2 separate regions of the Homo sapiens genome follow, and region 1 is linked to region 2. Evidence: promoter capture Hi-C in human tissues and cell types (Jung and others, 2019). All regions are on one chromosome and are shown on one strand. The core of a region is centred on a gene start or on the middle of the fragment in contact, and the rest is flanking DNA. Distances in the headings are between cores, read along the strand shown.

Region 1 (5,046 bases), core at 734-3,233, 51 kb after region 2:
AAAATGTAATGTGAGTAACACATGTAATTTAAAATTTTCTAGTAGTTACAATGAAATAATAATTAATTTCACCTGTTATCAATATATTTCATTTTACCCAATATATCTAAAATATTAATCATTGTGGCATGTAATCAATGTAACAGAATTATTCATAGGTACTTTACATTTGGAGAGTGGGTAGTGAGTCTTTGAAATCCACTGTGTATTTTACACTTCTATCCCATCTCAATTCAGACTAGCCACATTTCAAGTGCTCACCAGACATGTGTGGCTACTATACTTGACAACACAACTCTAGATGAATTTCTGTAACATCAGTATTCAGAATGTAACAACAGTATCTATTGTAGAGCACTTACCATCCTGTGTTCTGTAAGATGCCTCACTCTGATATTCTCCCCCCATCAACTCAAATAGTTACCCCACCACTGTCATCACTCCAAGATCCCATAACTCCTCATAATAGCTCTATCACAGTGCCTGTCTAAGTATAGTACTATCTTGCTTATTAAACAGTGATTTATCCAGCAGCTTCAACTATTCGGTACTCAGCAAAGAAGAAGCAAAGTGACCTCTAATTTAGTCAAGATCAGAATCACAAAGCTTATACCCTAAAACTAAAGCTCTTTATTTGGAGATATTAGGTGTATAATTCACATCTCCTATTCTGGGAATTAACAATACTTTAAATAACATAATCTATATTGTATATATGACTTGAGAAAGAATACATCAGTCCTTCACACTGATCCTAATTTATTCTTAACTCATACTGAATTTAGCAGTATGAGTTAAGATTTAATTTAATTGGCCTCTTTCAGGGTCAAAAGAGAACCATTCATTCATTCACTGATACACTGATTCATTCAACAATTCTCAAGTGAGCACTTTCCACGTTCCAGGCACTGTGTTAGAAAGTAGAGCTATAAAGATGAACAGATATGTTTATCCTCAAGAAGCTCGCATTCTAGAGGAAGAGAACCTTGTAAACAATTACAACAAAATGAGATAATAAGAACTACCATAAATGAGGGTAAGGTATAATGGAAATCAAGAGGAATAATTATTTAATTAGATATCTGAAAAGGTATCTCAGACAGAATTAAAATACTATAATTAAAATTTGAAGGATGGTAAAAGCTGGCTAGGTGAATTGGGATACAGAAATCAGTAGGATACTCTGATTCTGAAGAGAATAGCATGGACAAAGGCATAGATTTGTAAGATACAATGACACATTTGGGAATTCGGTATGTCAGAATCTGAAGCTGGAACATGACAATGGAAGGAATTAACATTAGACAGGCAGGCAGGATTGAAAGTAAGCAGCCCTACAGGCCATGTTAAAGTGTTTAAATTTAATCCAGTAGGAGAAGTAATGGGAAGCCACTGAAGAATGTTGATCTGACATAAAAATGACATGATTGTATCAGGATAGAAAGATGACCCTGGTGGTAGTGTAAGAGATGGAGGATAGAATAAATGATTAAAAAATCAGGAGCAAGGAAACCTATTAGAAAACGATGGACATATAAGAAATGAGTCACTGAATCAGGACAAAGGCATTGGAGCTAAGGAGACAAATACAAAAGATTTAGGAGGCAAGACTGACTTGGCAATAATAACTAGTTAGTTAAATCCATGGGTTCAGGAGCCAAGCTGAATGACCTCTCTGCCTTTTGGCTCTATTCTTGAGCTGGTTATTTCATCTCTTTGTGCTCCAGTTTTTCAATCTATAAATGTGAACAAAAATCTCCACAAAAACTTCATATAGATAAAACACACAGGATACCTGGTAATAACTGATACCTTTAGAATGCTTATTATTATGGCCAAATTAGAAGAGGGGTATCTAGAAGCAAGCACACTAAAAACAATAGGAAATAAAAGAGAAAAAAGTAGAACTAAATAAATAGTAATACATGGTGATTTAATCTAAGGACAAATATCCTTCAATAGCCTTGGAGCGCATTTCTAAACAACAGTGATTAACTCAAACATATTCAAAGTTATAATACTGACCTTATATTTCTTAATTTTACATTCAGAGTTTGTAGGTGGTACCAAAGTAAAACTTTCCATAATAGCTTCTCTAACAGTGCTCATTACCACCAAGAAGAGAAGCTCACTAAGTTTTCAAAAAGCAACTTCACTTCAAGGTTGCCCGTCTGAACTGAGTCCGTATCAACAAAGTTAGTGACGGTTACTTTATGGCTTATGTAAAACTTCTAGAGAACAGGTGTCCACATCTGAAAAGTCTCGACCACAATTGACTCCCTTGTTGGTGCTGCTGTGGAGAAGTGTTGAATGGGCTGTTACAAGATTTTCTATACATGAAGCACCAGAGGGCTAGGAAATACTTGTACACAATGCATAATAGGGAGGATTAAAAGGCCACTCGGGCATTTGCCTAAATTACCACTTTTTGCACTGATCAAATAGATGACCCTTGCCCTAAAAGTCAGTAAATTCTGGCTTTGACAGAGAAGGAAATTCAGCTACTGAAAAACTTTTAACCTTGGATTCTTTTTGACTATTATCCATCAGTAGGCAAGGTTTTAGTGTTAACAACTAGCCAATTCCACAGCTATTTCATAAACAACAGAAAAGTCAAACCCCAAGCTAAGCTTAATGAATAAGATCATACATTGTAATTTGAATAAAAAAGGATAAATTACGGGATGACATAAAACAAAAACAACATTACTGTTGTTGTTTTTTAAAGTACACACAGAGGCTGTGTAAGGGTTTCCCTTAAGAAACCAGCCACCAAGTACATGTAACTTGATTTATAATTTTGTTCAAAAGTTCCAAATGAACCTATATACTGTATTTTATAATCTGAGATCTTATACCACATTATACTTAGGGCACTAATACTCAGGTATAAGGCCTACTGATAAAATGTGAACCATAGAGAACCAATGGGTTCTTATTTTGCCTTTGAAATTGACTACAAGTGAGCAAACCATTTAACCTCTAGAGTGTTTTCTCCTCTACAAATTAATTATAAACTGTTTAGAAATAAAAGCTGAAGGGAAAGAGATTATTATTAACGAAAATATATTTCAGGATAGGTAGACAATTGCAAAGTAGAGAAACTAGATTCACAAAGTTCTCAACTAGGAGGTGGTGGGGGTATTTTTGGAAGAAAACAATATCCATCTTTAAAACCCATACATGTTAAAACAATCAGAAGGACTAGAAAATATGAATATTTAAAATGATTAGAGATAAAAGAAACAGTACCATTATGAACAAATTAGGACATTATGAACAAGGAACAGAAAAATTTAGAAAAGGATCAAGTAAAACTTATATAAATGAATTTTAAAATTCATATACATAATGAACCCTTTGAAAAATATAATTTCCATGAAAGGATTTACACTGAGACTGAAACACCAATTACTGAGAATGTTATTGAAGAGATTTCCACGGAAGGCTATCTTACTAACAGCTATCCTCACCCTTACCCCTCCATACAACCACAGCTGTTTGACCTTCATTTTCAAGTCAATAAGAATCTCATACTTTAATACTAAATGGAAAATGACAAAATAAACATGGTATGGGACAGAAGCATCTCTTCCTGTGAAAACATCAAAAATTAACTTTTCAAAATGATTTGGGCTTTTACTTAATTGAAGTGTAAGGAAATATATATTTAATAAGCACTCAATTGCAAAAATACTAGATGAGTTTGGAGTTTTTTACAGGTATTTCTCATACCATTAAACTAGGATAAGAGGCCAAAGAGTAAAGTTATCCTTCTAAAAGGTAAAGTTTATCTTCAACTATGCATAAAAAGTATAATGGAAAATAAGAATTTTGAGTGCTCAAAAGAAAAAAACCTCAAAAGGGACTAGAATGATACTTAAATAAAAGGGGTAGGGCATATGGGGAAAAAATTGGGCCTGGAATCAAAAGGTGAAAAAGGCTATTATAGGTCTGCCATATTTTAGACCCTTCAAAATATTTATTAATATATTTATTAATATATATTTTGTTCACCATTTAACAGGATAGTTATGAGACAGGGAAACTGTATATATACATATATATATGAATATGGATATACAAAAACCCATTAAAATAGGATGTATAAAAACACTGCATTATGAACAGTTATCAAAATACAAGTCAAATATTTAATTTATATAAAAGGTAAAATTTGAAAGGGTTTGAAGGCTTGTTATAATCTGGATAAATGGAAGATGACTGATATCCTAACAAACAAAAATCATGGAGGCAAAATGAGCTTATTTATTCAATAGAAACTGAAAGTATGGGTCTGGCTATTGTGGAAGCAGTGGTAATAAGGATGAAAGGTAAATTTAGGCGAGAGTATAGAGGACCATGTAATACCTACCTGGTAGAACATAGGGCCCTGTCCTCTTCTAAAGAAGCCAGAGCTGGGAGATCCTCCATTTCCCTACTCACTAGAAGGCAGGGTTTGGGCACATGACCAAGGCTCAATTAGATAATCTCAAGGCAATGAAGCAAGTATTCATGGGTATTTAGGAAATTATTTATGGTAGCTGTGGCAGCATCAAGTACTAGAGGCACCCAGCATAGGGGTTCTAATTAGATTCTTCTGAGGCTTAACTTGGCTTTGGTTCTTGGTTGTTTCCAGAATCTTGTTCTCTCCCTTTCTGCCAGGTCTGTAGAGGCATCCTATAACTTTCCAGTACATTTTTTTCCTGCCCATATTGGCCAGAGTTGGTTTCTGTTGTTTGTAACCAAAAAATTAACTGAATTATATGCCATCTGTAAAACAGACAACACAGTGAAAATGTATACCTTACCTGGCACTTTCATACTGTTTCACAGTCATTAATGTATCTTCAATGGTTTTATTCACCAAAGTGTTCACACTAGCAATGAAAAAATTAATGGCCCCAAGAAGAGTCTCTCCATTTTTAGCCAGCAGTTTCTGGGTATCGGCATTATAGCCAAATTCTTCCTAAAACAAAGAAGTCACCTTAATTTATTCAGTAATAAATCAGTAAAAGTGACTTAAAAATCTCAAGCACGTCACTA
Region 2 (5,018 bases), core at 1,774-4,273:
TGTCCAACATGGTGAAACCCGTCTCTACTAAAATACACACACACATAAACACACACTCAAACACACACACTGAAACACACACACTCAAACACACACACACAGTAGCTGGGCGTGGTGGCGCGCCTGTAGTCCCAGCTACTTGGGAGGCTGAGGCAGGAGAATCGCTTGAATCAGGGAGTCGGAGGTTGCAGTGAGCCGAGATTACGCCACAGCACTCCAGCGTGGCGACAGAGCCAGACTCCGTCGCAACAACAAAACAACAATAACCAAAAAAAAGACGTTCTAGTCTCTTGAAGGGAGCCAAGAAAAAAGAGTATATAGGCTTCATCTCACAGTGTATTTAAGGGGAGAGCATGTTCCTGGCCGTCAGTTTGGAGCTCAGGGCTTTCCTGAACGAGGACCAGTGGTCCTGGTGCTCAGAATGAGTGGTTCTGCACCAGTGGTCCTGGTGCTCAGAATGAGTGGTTCTGCACCAGCGGTCCTGGTGCTCAGAATGAGTGGTTCTGCACCAGTGGTTCTGGTGCTCAGAATGAGGGTCTTGGTGCTCAGCTGGTCACTCACTCCTTTGGTCAACAATAATCAAAAGGAACATCAAGGAAAACCTGCCAGAAAACCTTTCTCCTTGACTCCTGGCATGTGCCACAGAAGAGGTGGGGGCAGGAAGGGCTGGCCCACATGCTTCTGATGACAAACCAGGGTAGAACAAGCCGAGTTTGGAGAGCAGAGGTAGAGAAACACACAGCCCTATTTTATTGTATTTGGGAGAGAAGAAAAGGATGGGGAAAGTACGGACAATTCTAAACTATGGAATTTTTACTCCCACTCCACTAATTCGGGAAAAGGCTCCTCCACCACCACTTATCTTTCAAAAGCTTTCTTGATTATTAAACACAGAATGTCAGTCGGTACAATTACGCAGTCGGGCCAGAGCCGGACCGTCCAGCTCTTCTGTGAGTTCCGTCTGCCTGTGCTCCAGGCAGTAGTGAAAGAACCCAGGACAACGCGTTCCCAGTAAGCGCCTTCAATCTGCAGCACAATGTAAATATTCATAGGCGCCCGAGACCAACACCCGAGAGCAGAGGAAAAACGCCTGTATTTGAATGTTCATTTTCAGTTTCTCTCACTGTCCCAAAACCAAGAAAAAAAAAAAAAAAAGCACATGCGTGCCAAAGGATGCTCTAGAGAGAGGGAAGGGAGCGCCGGCTGCTCCTTCCAGGAAGACAACTGTGGGTCAGTTGAAGGGGGTCACAGACGGCCGAATCCCGGAGGTCGTTTCTGTCCACACGGAAGTTTGAAAACCGACCATTAAGTCCGGAAGAAATTCGGCCTGGGGGGTCCTGGGACACCACTTCTTTCAAGTTTGGATACGTAGTAGTTCACCAGCTCTCTGCGTTAGACAGCTGTCCGCAGCCTCCTTACATCCCCAACCCGGCACCCCGGTCCCCGCCCGAGCCACTCACCAACAAGCCACCGGCTCAGCCGCCACCGGCTGGGCCGCGAATCCCCGGGGAGCCGCGCTGGGGTCAGCAAACTGAACGCGAGTGGGCGGCCCACGGGCCGCGCGGAGCCCCAGCTGCGTCCTTATCAGCGCCGGGCAGAAGGGCGTCGCGGCGCGAGGGTGGGGCGCCGGTGCGCGCTGAGATCGACGCCCACACGCGCCGCGCCAGCTCTGCGGCGGGGAGAGAAGCCGCGGCCTGCGGGGCGGGGACTGCGGGGCGGGCGCCCAGCGCGGGCGTTGCACGACCCTCGGCCTTCCGCAGCGCCGACCGCTCTCCCGTCCGGCGGCTGCAGCTGCTGGGTCGGCCGCCGCACCCGCTCGCCCATTCCCGGCCCCTCCAGTTGGAGGGGGTCTCGGCCCCGCCCCCCTCCCCGAGGGGCCCACGCTGGAAAGCCCACGCTCCCCACGCCACGCCCCCCAGGGCGCCAGCCCCTCTGCGGGGGTTTAGCACGCTGCGCCCAGAAGTTGGGTGGGAGACGGCTAACTAGGGGAGGTGTCCGTGTGAATGAAACGAAAGGGGGGGTCTTCCGGCTCGCAGACACCGGGTCTGCGGCGGCCGCGCGCTCCCAACCCACCCGGAGCCTCCGCCGCGACATCTTCCCACGTCCCCCATCCAGGTCGCAGGCGCGGGGGAAAAGCCTCACGGCCGCACTGCGGCTCTGCCAAAAGGGAGCCGGGTCGAGCCGCTGAGAAAAACAGAGGGGAGACTCCTGGCGTTTGAAACCGGTCAGAACCCGCTCTCCAAGAGCTGGGGACACCCCTTGTTTGGAGGCTGATCCCCAGCCCACCCGCTTCCTCCCCCTCCCCACACTCCTGCAGGCGCGGGGCGCAACTTGCAATCCGAACTTCGCGCGGCCGGAGCAAGTTTGTCGGGGCGAGAAGCGCCTGGTCCTCGGTCCGCACCACCGCACTAGGTCCCCGCCACCGCCCCACCACTGTGTCAGGGGCCAGGCGTGGCCCCCGGCTGGCTAGGGAACCGAGCGCGGCGCCGCGGCTGCGCATTCCGTGCGGGACGCCGCTGTCTCCCAAGGGTCGGGATAAACTAGGGGGCGGTTGATCTGAAAGTCTTAGCCACGACTAATAGTCAACCGCCCAGGTGCGACCCGCAGCAGCCTTGGCGATGCAGCTCGTTCTCCAGACGCGGGTCCACACCGGCGCGTCCTCGCCTCCAGGGACCGATCGCTGTTCTCCGTGGCCGGGTAAGGGCGGCCGCCAAAGTCACCGGGGTGGATGTGGAGGGAACTGGAACCTCCTCTCCAGCTTTCCCGGTGAGGCTCGGAGGAAGCCGAGACCCGGCACCCATCAGCCGCGCTTCTCGGCGCCTCAGCCTCGGGTCCCGGACAACACCCCAACCCTGACCCTCCCGAGCGGCGGGGCTCCAGCTCCCCGTGTCCCGCGCCGCGGTCGCCCCCGCCTCGGCCGCCCGACCCGCACTCACCCGCGGCCAGCGCGCCCCCGCTCCCGGCGCGCAGACCGCTGCAGCCTCCCGCCGTTGTGTCGGCGTAGCCGCCTCCTCCCGGTCACTGCAGGCCCAGCCAACCCTGAGCGCGAGGGGGCAGGGCGGGGCGGGGCGCAGCGGCAGCCTCAGGTAACAAAGCTGCGGCCTCGCTGCTCCTGGCCGGCCGGGAAGGGCAGCGCGCCCTTTCCTGCTCCGCCCCTCCCTCGCCTCCCCTTCCACCCTACGCGCGCCACCGTCACCGCCACGCGCTCACCTTCACCTGCGCGGGGCCCCGGGGGAGACGCCTCGGGGCACACTGCTTCCCGCACCCGAAGGCTGGTGCGGGGCTAGGCCGGGGGCCACCGAGAGAAGTAGGGGCGGCAGGAGACGGAGATAGCTGGGCTGCCCAGAAGAGCCAGGTGTCCTCGGGGAACGGGCGAGAGGAGGCGCCAAGCTGGCTTCTGAACCTGCAAGTGCCTTTCACAAAGGAGCCTTTGCGACAGCCTCCCAGGCACCCTCTCTTGTGCACACGGGCGCGCACACACTCTTATATACACGCGCGCACACACACACACACACCCGCACACGCCCCCCGACGCACGCGCCAGACCACCCTCTGCCCCAACACTTGCTTCTCCCTGGAGAGCTAGCAGCACTTGGGCGAACTGACCTGTCCCAACCCCTACAGCTGAAACCTGGCTGCGCTAGAGCTTCGCAAAGGTCAGCTCCTCCCTGGGGCCTGCCAAGCTGTAAATTTGTTACCGTTTTTTATTTTGTTTTTGTTTTTAATTCTCAATGATGATGGTAACAGAAACCTTTAGGTTGTATTAAAGCGTAAAAAGACCCCTCAAAAATTTTGCCAGGCCTCATCGAATGAACGCACGCTGTCTGGGAAAGGCACACTCCTCACAGAAAGAAACAGGGGAATCGATTTAATCACATTTTTTTTTTCTTCAAAGTGACTTGGGGCGCCAGTGAGAAGCAAGTAGTCAAAGAAAACATCCCGGGCAAACCGGCTGACCGAAAATCCACTGTCGGGGTAGGGAGGCGCCCTCTACGGGGATGAAGTCATCGCTACCTTTGACTCTTTGATCCTAGATAACCGACCAAGACGTTTCCAGCCTAATGCCTGACGCCTTTTGCTTCCTCCATCCTGGTCCTCAGTCCCTGAACTCCCAGGACAGAATTCCTGACCTCCTTGGTCAAGCCTTGGATCGAGAAAGAGAAACTATTAGTGTAAACAAACCAATCAACCCCAAAACCAAAACTGTGCCTGCCAATAGCCCATTTCTTGGCCATTGATGGTGCATGAAGAGAAATGGATCCAATTAAGAAAATCTTAAAATCTTAAGGAATAAGAAAATGTAATAAAGAGAAAGACAATGTCATGCTCAGGGAGCTAATATGAATCCCAAAGGAATATTGACTGTTCAGGCTCAAGTTAAATTACAGCAGATCGAAAGTGAGGAGTTGAGTGGCATCTTCTTTTCTCTTACTGTCGACCTTGTTAAATGGGGAGTCCACACCCCTTGCCTACTCCTCCCTCCTCAACCCCGTGACAGTGGGCCTCCCCCCAACTGTATTGAGCATGCACTCTAAAACAGTTACTTTTTGAGAAGTCAAGTCTGGTGACCCATTCTCAGCCCCTCATCCCTTTGATCTCCTTGGCAGCATCCTACCCTAAGGCCTTCTCTATGCTTCTCTGGACTTCTCTGCTGACCCTTCTCTTCCTTTGAGGACAGTAACAAGGTTTTTCCAACTCTCGATCTCCCAGTATCCCAAAGAAATACCTTCTGATTTCAAACTGAACCCATCCAGATGTCGTGGGACCTGAAGCTTGTATAACTCCTGGGGGAACTTCTTAAAGGAAAGCAATAAAAACTTACAAACATAATACTAGACATGTATCCTTGGAAGGGCCCAGGGAAAATGAGGGGCTTGGAAATTTGAGCTTCAAGGTATATCTCCGGGTTTCTCTTCAATGTCAGGGACTCTTGAATCCATATTATCGTTGTAAAATTTCAAGTCCAAATAAAAATATCCAAAAATCAACTCATCTTTCCCTCAAAACTAGTACTCTTC

What was found. Contacts are between HindIII fragments. The study calls those that stand out against the background at their distance.
Region 1: a fragment that was not itself captured here is called in contact with the fragment with the promoter of FHDC1 in region 2 in 1 of the 25 tissues and cell types used here (mesendoderm cells).

The regions. Positions count from the first base shown.
Region 1 is chr4:152,882,646-152,887,691 of GRCh38, reverse strand. It overlaps ARFIP1 (ARF interacting protein 1), which reads right to left. Exons shown (of 9, transcript NM_001025595.3): 7 at 4,812-4,969. Among named protein-coding and RNA genes, the nearest start is that of FHDC1, 51 kb to the left of the region's middle. The HindIII fragment of the contact is 4,299 bases long and covers 1-4,132 here.
Region 2 is chr4:152,934,328-152,939,345 of GRCh38, reverse strand. It overlaps FHDC1 (FH2 domain containing 1), which reads right to left and starts at 3,023. Exons shown (of 12, transcript NM_001371116.1): 1 at 2,937-3,023. LOC729870 (a long non-coding RNA gene) reads left to right here and starts at 2,509. Exons shown (of 2, transcript NR_136614.1): 1 at 2,509-2,697; 2 at 3,896-4,830. RefSeq lists silencers at 1,386-1,645, 2,978-3,067. The HindIII fragment of the contact is 7,704 bases long and covers 1-5,018 here.